Regions from separate parts of the Homo sapiens genome. Here region 1 is linked to region 2. Evidence: promoter capture Hi-C in human tissues and cell types (Jung and others, 2019). All regions are on one chromosome and are shown on one strand. Each heading gives the region's core, a stretch centred on a gene start or on the middle of the fragment in contact. The rest is flanking DNA. Distances are from core to core; before and after follow the strand shown. Region 1 has its middle 4.4 kb from the start of SNORD141A. Region 2 holds the start of SLC2A6 (solute carrier family 2 member 6).

Evidence for each region. The method cuts DNA at HindIII sites, captures the fragments that hold promoters and counts their contacts. A contact is called where the count stands out against the background at its distance.
Region 1: a contact is called between a fragment that was not itself captured here and the fragment with the promoter of SLC2A6 in region 2, in 1 of the 25 tissues and cell types used here (dorsolateral prefrontal cortex).

What each region holds. Positions count from the first base shown.
Region 1 is chr9:133,013,334-133,018,679 of GRCh38, forward strand. No RefSeq gene overlaps it. Among named protein-coding and RNA genes, the nearest start is that of SNORD141A, 4.4 kb to the right of the region's middle. The HindIII fragment of the contact is 3,919 bases long and covers 12-3,930 here.
Region 2 is chr9:133,476,449-133,481,626 of GRCh38, forward strand. SLC2A6 (solute carrier family 2 member 6) reads right to left here and starts at 2,651. Exons shown (of 10, transcript NM_017585.4): 1 at 2,520-2,651; 2 at 1,806-1,968; 3 at 587-793. The coding sequence starts at 2,611. RefSeq lists enhancers at 2,181-2,240, 2,661-3,162 and a silencer at 2,401-3,050. The HindIII fragment of the contact is 12,347 bases long and covers 1-5,178 here.

The DNA of each region.
Region 1 (5,346 bases), core at 721-3,220, 460 kb before region 2:
CCCATCTCTACTAAAAATACAAAAATTAGTCGAGCGTGGTGTTGGGTGCCTGTAATCCTAGCTACTCGGGAGGCTGAGGCAGGAGAATTGCCTGAACTTAGGAGGAGGAGGTTGCAGTGAGCCGAGATCAAGCCATTGCACTCTAGCCTGGGCGACAGAGTGAGACTCAGTCTCACAAAAAAAGCAAAAACCACTTTGGAAGGCTGAGGCAGGAGAATACCTTGAAGCCAGGAGTTTGAGACCAGCCTGGGCAACATGGCAAGACCCTATCTCTAGAAAAAAAATTTGAATTATCTGGGTGTGGTGCTGCATGCCTGTGGTCCCAGCTACTTGAGAGACTGAAGCCAGAGGACTGCTTGAGCCCAGGAGGTGGAGGCTGAGGCTGCTGTGAGTCGTGATCGCACCACTGCAATCCAGCCTGGGCAGCAGAGTGAGACCCTGTCTTAAATTTAAGAAAGCAAAAAGCTTTGAACAGACATTTCACAAAACGAGTTATTTAAATGGCCAAAAAGCATGTTAAAAGATGCTCAATAACATCATTAGTCAGGGAAAAATGTAAATTTAAGACACAATGAGATATGACTGCAACCTATTAGTACAGCTAACATAATACTAAGTGTTGTTGAAGATGTGGAGCAACTGGAAGTCTCAAACACTGTTGGGATGAATGTAAAATGGTACAACTGCTAAAGAAAAGAGGTCATCAGTTTCTTATACAGTTCAGCACACACTCTCCATGTGACTTAGCCGTTCCATGCCCAGGTGTCTAGCCAAGATGAACATTCATATCCATAGACATGACTTGTACAGGAATGTTCATCACAGCTGTATTTGTAATGGTGGAAAACTAGAAACCGCGTAATCTGGTTACACAGGCTGCGTTACAACTTATCCCCAAAATAGAGTGGCTTGAAGCAATAGTGAGTATTTATTCTCTCTCATGGTTTCTATAGATCAGATAATCAGACAGAGCACAGAGGCAATAGCTTCTTTCTCCTCTGTAGTGTCTGAGACCTCAGCTACAAGACTCAAAGGCTGGCAGTTGGAAGCATCTGAATGTCCTTTCATTCACATGTCTGGCATTGGATGTTGGCCCTTGGCTTGGGAGACTGGCTGTGGCTGTCATCTGGAACACTTGGTCTCTCCGTGTGGCCTAGGTTTTCTCACGAAATGGTGGCTGGGTTCCAAGGGCAAGCATCCCAAGAGAGGCCATGTTGCCTTTTATGATCCAGCCTTGAAAGTTCTGCAGCATCCTTTCTGCCACTTTCTATTGGCTGAGGCAATTGCAAAGGTTCACCCAGGTTCCAGGGGAGGGAATATAGACCACCACCTCAAAATGGAGGATTGTTGGACATCACATTGTAGGAAGACCATGGGGAATGGGATATTCATTGGGCAGCCACTGCTGGGAAATGCAATCCGCTACACCACCAAATGGCCATCAGTAGGAGAATGGATGTTATGGACTGCATGTTTACATCCCTCCAAAATTCATATGTTAAAACCCTAACTCCCAATAGGATGATAGTAGAAGGTGGGGCTTAGAAGGCGATTAGGTCATGAGGCTGGAGCCCTCATGATGAGATGAGTGTTGTTATAAGAAGATACCAGAGAGGCGGAGTGGCAGTGAGCTGATATCGCGCCACTGCACTCTGGCCTGGGCAACAGGGGGAGACCCTGTCTCAAAACAAACAAACAAACAAATAAATAAAAATAAGAAGATACCAGAGAGAGCTGGCCCCCTCTCTCTGCTCTGCCATATGAGGATACAATGAGAAGATGGCTGTTTGCAAAGCATGAAAAGCACCCTCAATGGACACTGAATCTGCCAGCACTCTGATCTTACACTTCCCAGTCTCCAGAACTATGAAAAGTAAATGTGACTGAAGCTGCCCAGTCTGTGGTGTTTTATTATAGCAGCCTGAACTAAGACAATGAAGAACCAAATGTTGGCATAGCACATTTATCCAACAATATACTGGCCAATAATATGAAAGAACAACTCTTGATACACACCATATAAATGAATCTCAAAATCATTATGTTGAACAAAAGAAGCCAGACAGAACAGATATGGAGTATAATTCCAGCCAAACTGTTACATATGGTGAGAGAAATCAAACAGTGGTTGGGTCTGACAGCAATGGACATATTGACTGGAAAGAGGCATGAGATGTTCTGGAATGATGGCAGTGTTTTTTTTCTTGATCTGGGAAATGGCCCCATGTATATGTATTAATTCACAGGCAAAAATTCATGAAGGGCAAGGCGCAGTGTCTTATGCCTGTAATCCCAGCACTTTAGGAGGCCAAGGCGGGCAGATCACCTGAGGTCAGGAGTTTGAGACCAGCCTGGCCAACATGGTGAAACCCTGTCTCTACTAAAAATACAAAAATCAGCCAGGCATGGTGGCGTGTGCCTGTAGTCCCAGCTACTCAGGAGGCTGAGACAGGAAAATCACTTGAACCCAGGAGGCACAGGTTGCAGTGAGCTGAGATCGCACTATTGCACTCCAGCCTGGGTGACCGAGCAAAACTCTGTCTCAAAACAAACAAACAAAAAATTCATGAAGGTGTACACTTCAGATTTGTGCATTTTACTACAAATAAATTATACCCCAATGGAGTACTATAAAAAGGTCATAAGAGAATATTATGAATAACTTTATCTCAATAGATTTGCAAATTTAGATGAAATTGAATAATCCCTAATAAAACATAACTTACCAAAGCTGACACAATAAGAAATGGAAAATCTGAGTAGTCCTTGATCTGAATCTGTAATTTAAGACTTTCTCACAAACCTCCCTCCCATTCCCAACATTTAAAAAAAGAAATCATGTACAAAAACAAAAATTAAAAAAGACAAAATAAAAAAAGAAAAGAAAGATAAGTCATGTACAAATTTACACAAAGAGAATGGAAAAAGAGAGAACACTTTTCAATTTATTGTATAAAGCTAACATAAACCTTGCTGTACAAAACTGGCAAGGACTTTACAAGAAAGAAAAATTACAGGCTAGTCTCTCTGGAAGACCTCTAAAGGTGAATATACTATACAGGCACACCTGGTTTTATAATGCTCTATTTTATGCAATTTTCAGATATTTCTTTTTTCTTTTTTTTTTTGAGATGGAGTCTTCCTCTCTCGCCCAAGCTTGAGTGCAATGGCACAATCTCGGCTCACTGCAACTTCCGCCTCCTGGGTTCAAGTGATTCTCCTGCCTCAGCCACCTGAGTAGCTGGGATTACAGGTGTGCACCACCATGCCTGGCTAATTTTTGTTGGCCAGGCTGGTCTTGAACTCCTGACCTCAGGTGATCTGCCTGCCTCGGCCTCCCAAAGTGCTGGGATTACAGGCGTGAGCCACTGCACCCAGCCTGTTTTTTTTTTTTTTTTTTTTTTTTTTTAACAAATTGAAGGTTTGTGGCAACCCTGGGTCCAGCAAGACTATTGGCTTCATTTTCTTAACAGTGTATGTTCACTTCATGTCTCTGTATCACAATATTTCAAATGTTTTCATTATTATATGTGTTATGGTGATCTGTGATCAGTGATCTTGGATGTTATTATGGTAATTGTTTTGGCGTACCTCAAACTGCACCCATATAACAGCAAACTTAATCAATAATTGTTGTGTGTGTTCTGACTGCTGCACTGACTGGCCATTTCCCCATCTCTCTCCCTTTCCACAGGCTTCCCTCCCACCTGAGACCCAAAATACTGAATTTAGACTGATCAGTGACCCTACAATGGGCTCTAAGTGTCCAAGTGAAAGGAAGGGTCCCAGGTTTCTCCCTTTAAATCAAAAGCCAGGAATGATTAGTGAGGAATGTTGGCATGAGGAAGGCAGGTTGAAAGCCAAGGCAGACCCAAAGCTAGACCTCTTGTGCCAGACAGTCAAGGTGTGAATGCAAAGGAAAAGTTCTTGAAATAAATTAAAAGTGCTACTCCAGTGAACACACAAATGATAAGAAATCAAAAAAGTCTTATTGCTGATATGGCTAAGGTTTGAGTGTTTCGGATAGAAGATCAAACCAGCCACAGCATTCCCTTAAGCCAAAACCTAATGCAGAGCAAGGCCCTAACTCTCTTTAATTCTAGGAAGGATGAGAAAGGTGAGGAAGCTGCAGAAGAAAAGTTGGAAGCTAGCAGAGATTGGTTCATGAGGTTTAAGGAAAGAAGCCATCTCCATAACACAAAAGTACAAGGTAAGCTGGGCGCGGTGGCTCATGCCTGTAATCCCAGAACTTTGGGAGTCTGAGGCGGGCAGATCACCCGAGGTCGGGAGTTTGAGATCAGCCTGACTAAGATGGTGAAACCTCGTCTCTACTAAAAATACAAAATTAGCCTGGTGTGGTGGCACATGCCTGTAATCCCAGCTACCCGGGAGGCTGTGGCAGGAGAATCGCTTGAACCCGGGAGGTGGAGGTTGCAGTGAGCCGAGATCACGCCATTTTATTCCAGCCTGGGCAACAAGAGTGAGACTCCATCTCAAAAAAAAAAAAAAAAGTACAAAGTGAAGCTGCAAGTGCTGATGGAGAAGCTGCAGCAAGTTATCCAGAAGATCTAGCTAAGATCACCGATGAAAGTGGGTACACTAAACAACAGATTTTCAATGTAGATGGAACAGCCTTCTATTGGAACAAGATGCAACCTAGGACTTTCCTAGCTAGAGAGAAAAAGTCAATGAGTGGCTTCAAAGCTTCAAACGACAGGCTGACTTTTGTTAGGGGTTCATGCAGCTGCTGACATTTGGTTGAAGCCAGTGCTCATTTACCATTCCAAAAATCCTAGGACCCTTAAGAATTATGCTAAATCAGCCAGGTGCGGTGGCTCATGCCTGTAATCCCAGCACTTTCAGAGGCTGAGTTGGGCAGACTGCTTGAGCCCAGCAGTTCAAGACCAGCCTGGGCAACATGGCGAAACCCGTCTCTACAAAAATTACAAAAATTAGCCACGCATGGTGGTGCATGCCTGTGAAACTCCCAGCTACTCAGGAGAATGAGGTGGGAGGATCACCAGAGCCCGGGAGGTGGAGGGTACAGTCTGTGCCACTGAACCCCAGCCTGGGCCACAGAGCAAGACCCTGTGAAAAAAAACAAAAGAAAAGAATGATGCTAAATCTACTCTGCCCATGCTCTAGAAATGGAAGAACAAATCCTGGATGATAGTGTGTCTGTTTGTGGCATGGTTTACTGAATATTTTAAGCTCTCTGTTGAGACCTGCTGCTCAGAAAAAAAAAAAGATTTTTTTCAAAATATTGCAGCACAGTTCAATGACACTGAATACATCCACATTGTTGCGCAACCATCACCATGTGACTTTTTTTTTTTTTTTTTGAGA
Region 2 (5,178 bases), core at 1,401-3,900:
CTGGTGGGGCTGAGTCCTGGTCATGACTCACTGCAAGACCTTGGGCGGCCTGCCTGATCTCTCTCTGTCCTCAGTTTCCCTAACTGTGACGTGGGTGGAAGTACGCAGCTCGGAAATGGGCAGCATGACGCTGGGAAGGAGGCCCGAGGGCTCCCAGGCTTCAGGGCTGAGCAGGTGAGTCCATGCCTCCCAGTGAGTTTTGTCTCCTCTGCTGGGCTCACCACCAGGCCCCGTGTGGAGTACCACATAAGATAAGAAGGTCCCGGGGAGGGTGTAGGGCAGGGACTTCCCTCTCCTACCCATTGCTCAATGCGGATTTTCTCCAATTGAGTAATACATCTGACCGGTCAAGAAACGGGGTAGAAGGCTTGGAAAGTCCAGAGTGGGGGCAGCTGGGGACCTGGAGACAATTTCCCCCAAATTAGCTGCCCTGCTGGGGGTGAGCTGAGGCGCCCTGGGCATCCGCAGGGAAGGCAAACAATTCTCATTGCCCAGAAGGCATGGAGGCTGGGAGGCCTTAGTCAGATGGAGGCTCAGCACCAATACAGAGGCATTGGGGCGCCTGGGTGGGAAGGCCTGGCCTTACCGGGATGCAGGCAGCTGTGAGCCCCCCGGCGAAGCCCGTCAGCGTCCTTCCGAGCAGCAGCATCCAGAGGCCGTGCGCACCCGCCATGAGCGCATAGCCGGCCGCCGACGGCACAGCTGAGAACATGATGCTCAGCTTCCGGCCCAGGAGGTCGTTGAGGATCATGGCACTCAGGCCTCCGGCCGCTGCTCCCAGGGTGAACACGGACTGCAGGGGAAGGGGGTGCAGGGCAGATATGTCTGGGCACTTGGCACCCCAATCTCATCAGAGTCCAGGGACAGCTTCTTCCCTAGGCCGACCCCAGGAGCTGGTCAAGCACTTGGCCAAGTCAAGCACTTGAAACAGGGAGCCTCCTGTCTTCAAGGAACAGCCATTTGTTAGGGATGCCCAAACGGGGAATTCTGCTCTAAGGAAGAGGTGCTGCGCCACATATCCACAGTGGTTCTGTCCAGCCTGATGTTTAAATGTCTAATATTTTAATACAGGAGAATTCTGTGACTTGAAGGTACTGGGCTTTAAGATTTGGAGGTTCTTAAGTTCCCTGTACAGCAGCAACTGGGACCCCCTCTGGACTCTGCTAACTGGTAGTGGGACCTGGGCACATTGCCCAGCCTGTCTGCACCTCAGTTTCTTCAGCTGTCTTATGGGGAGAGCGCAAGTTCTACCTCGTGGCGTTGGCCCTGAGAATCAATGAACGTTCAGTGCCCAACACATGCCTGGCACATAGGAAGTGCTCAGTAAACCTTGGGAATTTTTATCTTAACTACTATGTTAACAACTCTACATATGAGGCTATTAAGATTATAATTTTAGACTCTGGGACTCTGGGATCTTCCTCTCCATCAGCCCACAATCTGTCCTGCGGACTCTCCTTGCCCCAGCCAGTGCCTCTCCCCACTGACACCTGATACCCTTGCCCCCATCCAGCCAACTGTGGGTGTGGGGACCCGGGGAAGCCTCAGCCCCACCTAGTATAGACCCTGACAGCCACCTCCCCACCTGCTCCTTCCCTCACCCTCTCCACTGGCTTTCAGTTCCTCATTTCAGAGGAATCCTGTAGCTTTACCCCACCCACTAGTGGCCTGGATGGCTGGGGGAGGGGGGACCAGGGCCCTGGAGGGACCCCCAAGGTGGAGAATTTGGGAGGTTCCTAGCTGGAGATAAGGCTCAGCAGGTCCCTCCTTCCTGCACCCACCCTCCTCCAGAGGATGGTCCTTACCCCAAACCAGGATGCCTGGGATTTGGTCAGATGCAGGTCAGGATCCAAGGAGCGCTCCAGGGCTGGGATGACAGGGGATGTGTAGACCAGGGCATACCCAAAGCTGAAATTGCCGAGCACTGCGGCGAAGGTGGCCAGGAACACCCTTTTGTTCTGCAGGGTCCTGGTGATGGTGGCGGACAAAAAGACCAGGGTCTCTGAGTCCCTCCTCCAGGGACCATTGCCTTTTCTGAACCCAGTGGCTGCCCGGCTCAGCGGGCAGTGCTAGGGAGGCCTGGGTCCAAGGCCATTCACGTTCCCAGGGCCTGAGCCCCAGCTCCCCTGGGAAATTCCCAGGCCATTGTTAGCTCATCCGCAGTGGCTGAGCCTCTGGTGCTGGGGCCTTTTCTCCGGAAGAGGAGGCTCTGGTTCTGCCCCCAGGGCGGCGGCTGGAGGCTTGCTGTGTGACCTCAGGCAGAACCCCTGCTCGCTGGGGCCTCAGTCTCACTGTCTGTGGCAGTGGGGGGCTGGGCCCGGTACTCTCGTGGATCGTTCCTTCCCTTAGGGGGACCAGTTCCTTAAATAGGAGTAGCGTGTCTGGGACAGGAGGGAGCCAGATGGCCCCTCGGTGGCGACTAGGTCAGGGGAGGCCCAGGGCGGGAGCCTGCCGCCGGCTGGAGGGAACCAGGGCCACCCCCAGGCCCCACCCGCAGCCCCCAACCTAGCGACTCTCACCCGACCCGCGCCCTGTCCCCTGGCGACGGGGGCGGCTTCTCGGGGAAGGTGTCGTAGTCCGGGCCCTCGGCTCCCAGCAGCGGCTCCTGCATGGCCGGGTCTCTCTCGGGGCGAGCGGAGGGCGCTCAGACTGGAGCAGCCGCCCGGGGCCAGCAGCTCCGAGGGCACCGGCCAGGCTCCGCCCCTTGGCCGCTATTGGCTGTGGGACGGCCCTGCAGAGACACGCCGGCCAATGGGGCGGCCGCAGGCTGTCCTGATGCTCGGATGCGGACCCGGCTTCCCCGGGCGCGGCCGGCACCGCGTGCGCCCCCGAAGGTCACGCCCCAAGACAGGATGGGGGTCCCAGGGCGGAGCCCCTGCTGGATCGTCCGGGGCCCCCGCGGAGCGCCGGAAGCGGCTCACCCGGCCCGGCTCTTGCAGGCGTGACTGCGGCAATGCGCGCAGCCCCTGTCGTACTCGCTCCCGCGGGGTGGAAACCGAGGCCCAGAGAGGCGAAGCCGAGCGCCAGGGTCACAGCGAATGCGCACCTCGCTCCTCCTTACGCTCTAGCCCTCCCCGTCGCGTGGCGTCTCAGGGCCACCTCTGCCCTGGCTCTCCCTGGCACCAGGGAATCGGGGTGTGTCAGGGCAGCAGCGGATGTGCGGGACGAAGGAGGCAGGAGGGGCCGGCGAGGCGCTGTGGGCAGCTCCAGTGGGCGAGGTCTGTATCCTCCACCCCAGGCTCTGGTGGTAGAAATAACCTGAGCTCGTGACACGTAACCCAGGTAGTAAGATAACATTGAAAAATAAGAAAAGCAGAAATGGAAAATTCCCGGGAAGACCGTCCTCAAAAAATCCCACAGCAGTTCCACCTCTCCCTTTGGGCCTTTTCGGGAAGAGGACGGAATCACGCCCTGCTCTGTTGGATGGACGTGCCACACACGCTTTTAAACGGAGCCTTTGTTGCTGAGTATTTGGGTCATTTCCCATTTTAGCTATTAACATGGTAAAGCATTTTTAAAAGTTAGAATTCCCTTTTATTATGATTGAAATACAACCATAATAGAACAATAAAATCACATCCATCTCCCGTCAGCCTGACCTTGATGGCGTTTTAGCCTCTTCCAGTCTTTTCCTCATGTGCCTATTTTGCATATTTGCTATTGGGGCCCCCATTAAACTGTGCAGCCCCTTTACGTCACCGTTTTCTTGCCATCAAGATCATAGGCTTTGGACTCAGGCACACCCTGGTATGGTGATCAGGCTGCACAGTCCTCGTGGCCATATATATACGTATATACATATATATGTGTATGTATTTTTACATATCTATATGTGTATTTTTTTTTTTTTTTTTGAGACGGAGTCTCGCTCTGTTGGCCAGGCTGGAGTGCAGTGGCACGATCTCAGCTTACTGCAACTTCCACCTCCCGAGTTCAAGCGATTCTCCTGCCTCAGCCTCCCAAGTAGCTGGGATTACAGGCATGTGCCACCACGCCCGGCTAATTTTTGTATTTTTAGTGGAGACGGGGTTTCACCATGTTGGCCAGCTTGGTCTTGAACTCCTGACCTTGTGATCCTTCCGCTTCAGCCTCACAAAGTGCTGGGATTACAGGCGTGAGTCACCGCACCCGGCCTTCTCTTTTTTTAAAATGTATTTTTTTTCTTTTAAAATCAACTTTAGGCCAGGTGCAGTGGTGTGTGCCTGTAATCCCAGCATTTAGGAGGCCAAGGTAGGAGAATTGCTTGATGCCAGGAGTCTGACACCAGCCTGGGCAACAAAGTGACCCTGTCTCTACAAAAAGCTAAAAAAGTTGTCCAGGTGTGATGGCAAGTGCCTGTGGCCCCAGCTACTCGGAAGGCAGAGGTGGGAAGATTGCTTGAGCCCAGGAGTTTGAGGCTGCGGTGAGCTGTGATCACACCACAGCACTCCAGCCTGGGTGACAGAGGGAGAGCCTTCTTGAAAAAATAAAATACAAGAAAAATCAACTTTGTTAAGCTATAATTTATATACAGTAAAATGAATCCATTTTAAATATAGGTTGATGAGTTTTGACAATTGTATAACCCCAAACACCCCCAATCAAGATATAAAACATTTCCACCTTTTCTTTCTTTCTTTTATCTTTTTTTGAGACAGAGTCTCTCTCTGTTGCCCAGGCTGGAGTGCAGTAGTGCGATCTCGGCTCACTGCAACCTCCGACCACTGGGTTCAAGCGATTCTCCTGCCTCAGCCTCCCGAGTAGCTGGGATTACAGGCGCCCGCCACCACACCTGGGTAGTTTTTGCATTTTTGGTAGAGATGGGGTTTCACCATGTTGGCCAGGCTGGTCTCAAACTCCCAACATCAGGTGATCCTCCCGCCTTGGCCTCCCAAAGTGCTGGGATTACAGGCGTGAGTCATCACGCCCAGCCCATTTCCACCCTTCTAGAAGGTTTCTTTGTGCCTTTCTGAGGTCAACCTCCTTTCCCTGCTCCCCAGTAAACTATTTTTTTTTTTGAGAGGGAGTTTCACTCTGTCCCCCAGGCTGGAGTGCAGTGGTGCGATCTCGGCTCACTGCAAGCTCCGCCTCCCAGGTTCATGCCATTCTCCTGCCTCAGCCTCCTGAGTAGCTGGGACCACAGGTGCCCGCCACCATGCCCGGCTAATATTTTTTTGTATTTTTAGTAGAGATGGGGTT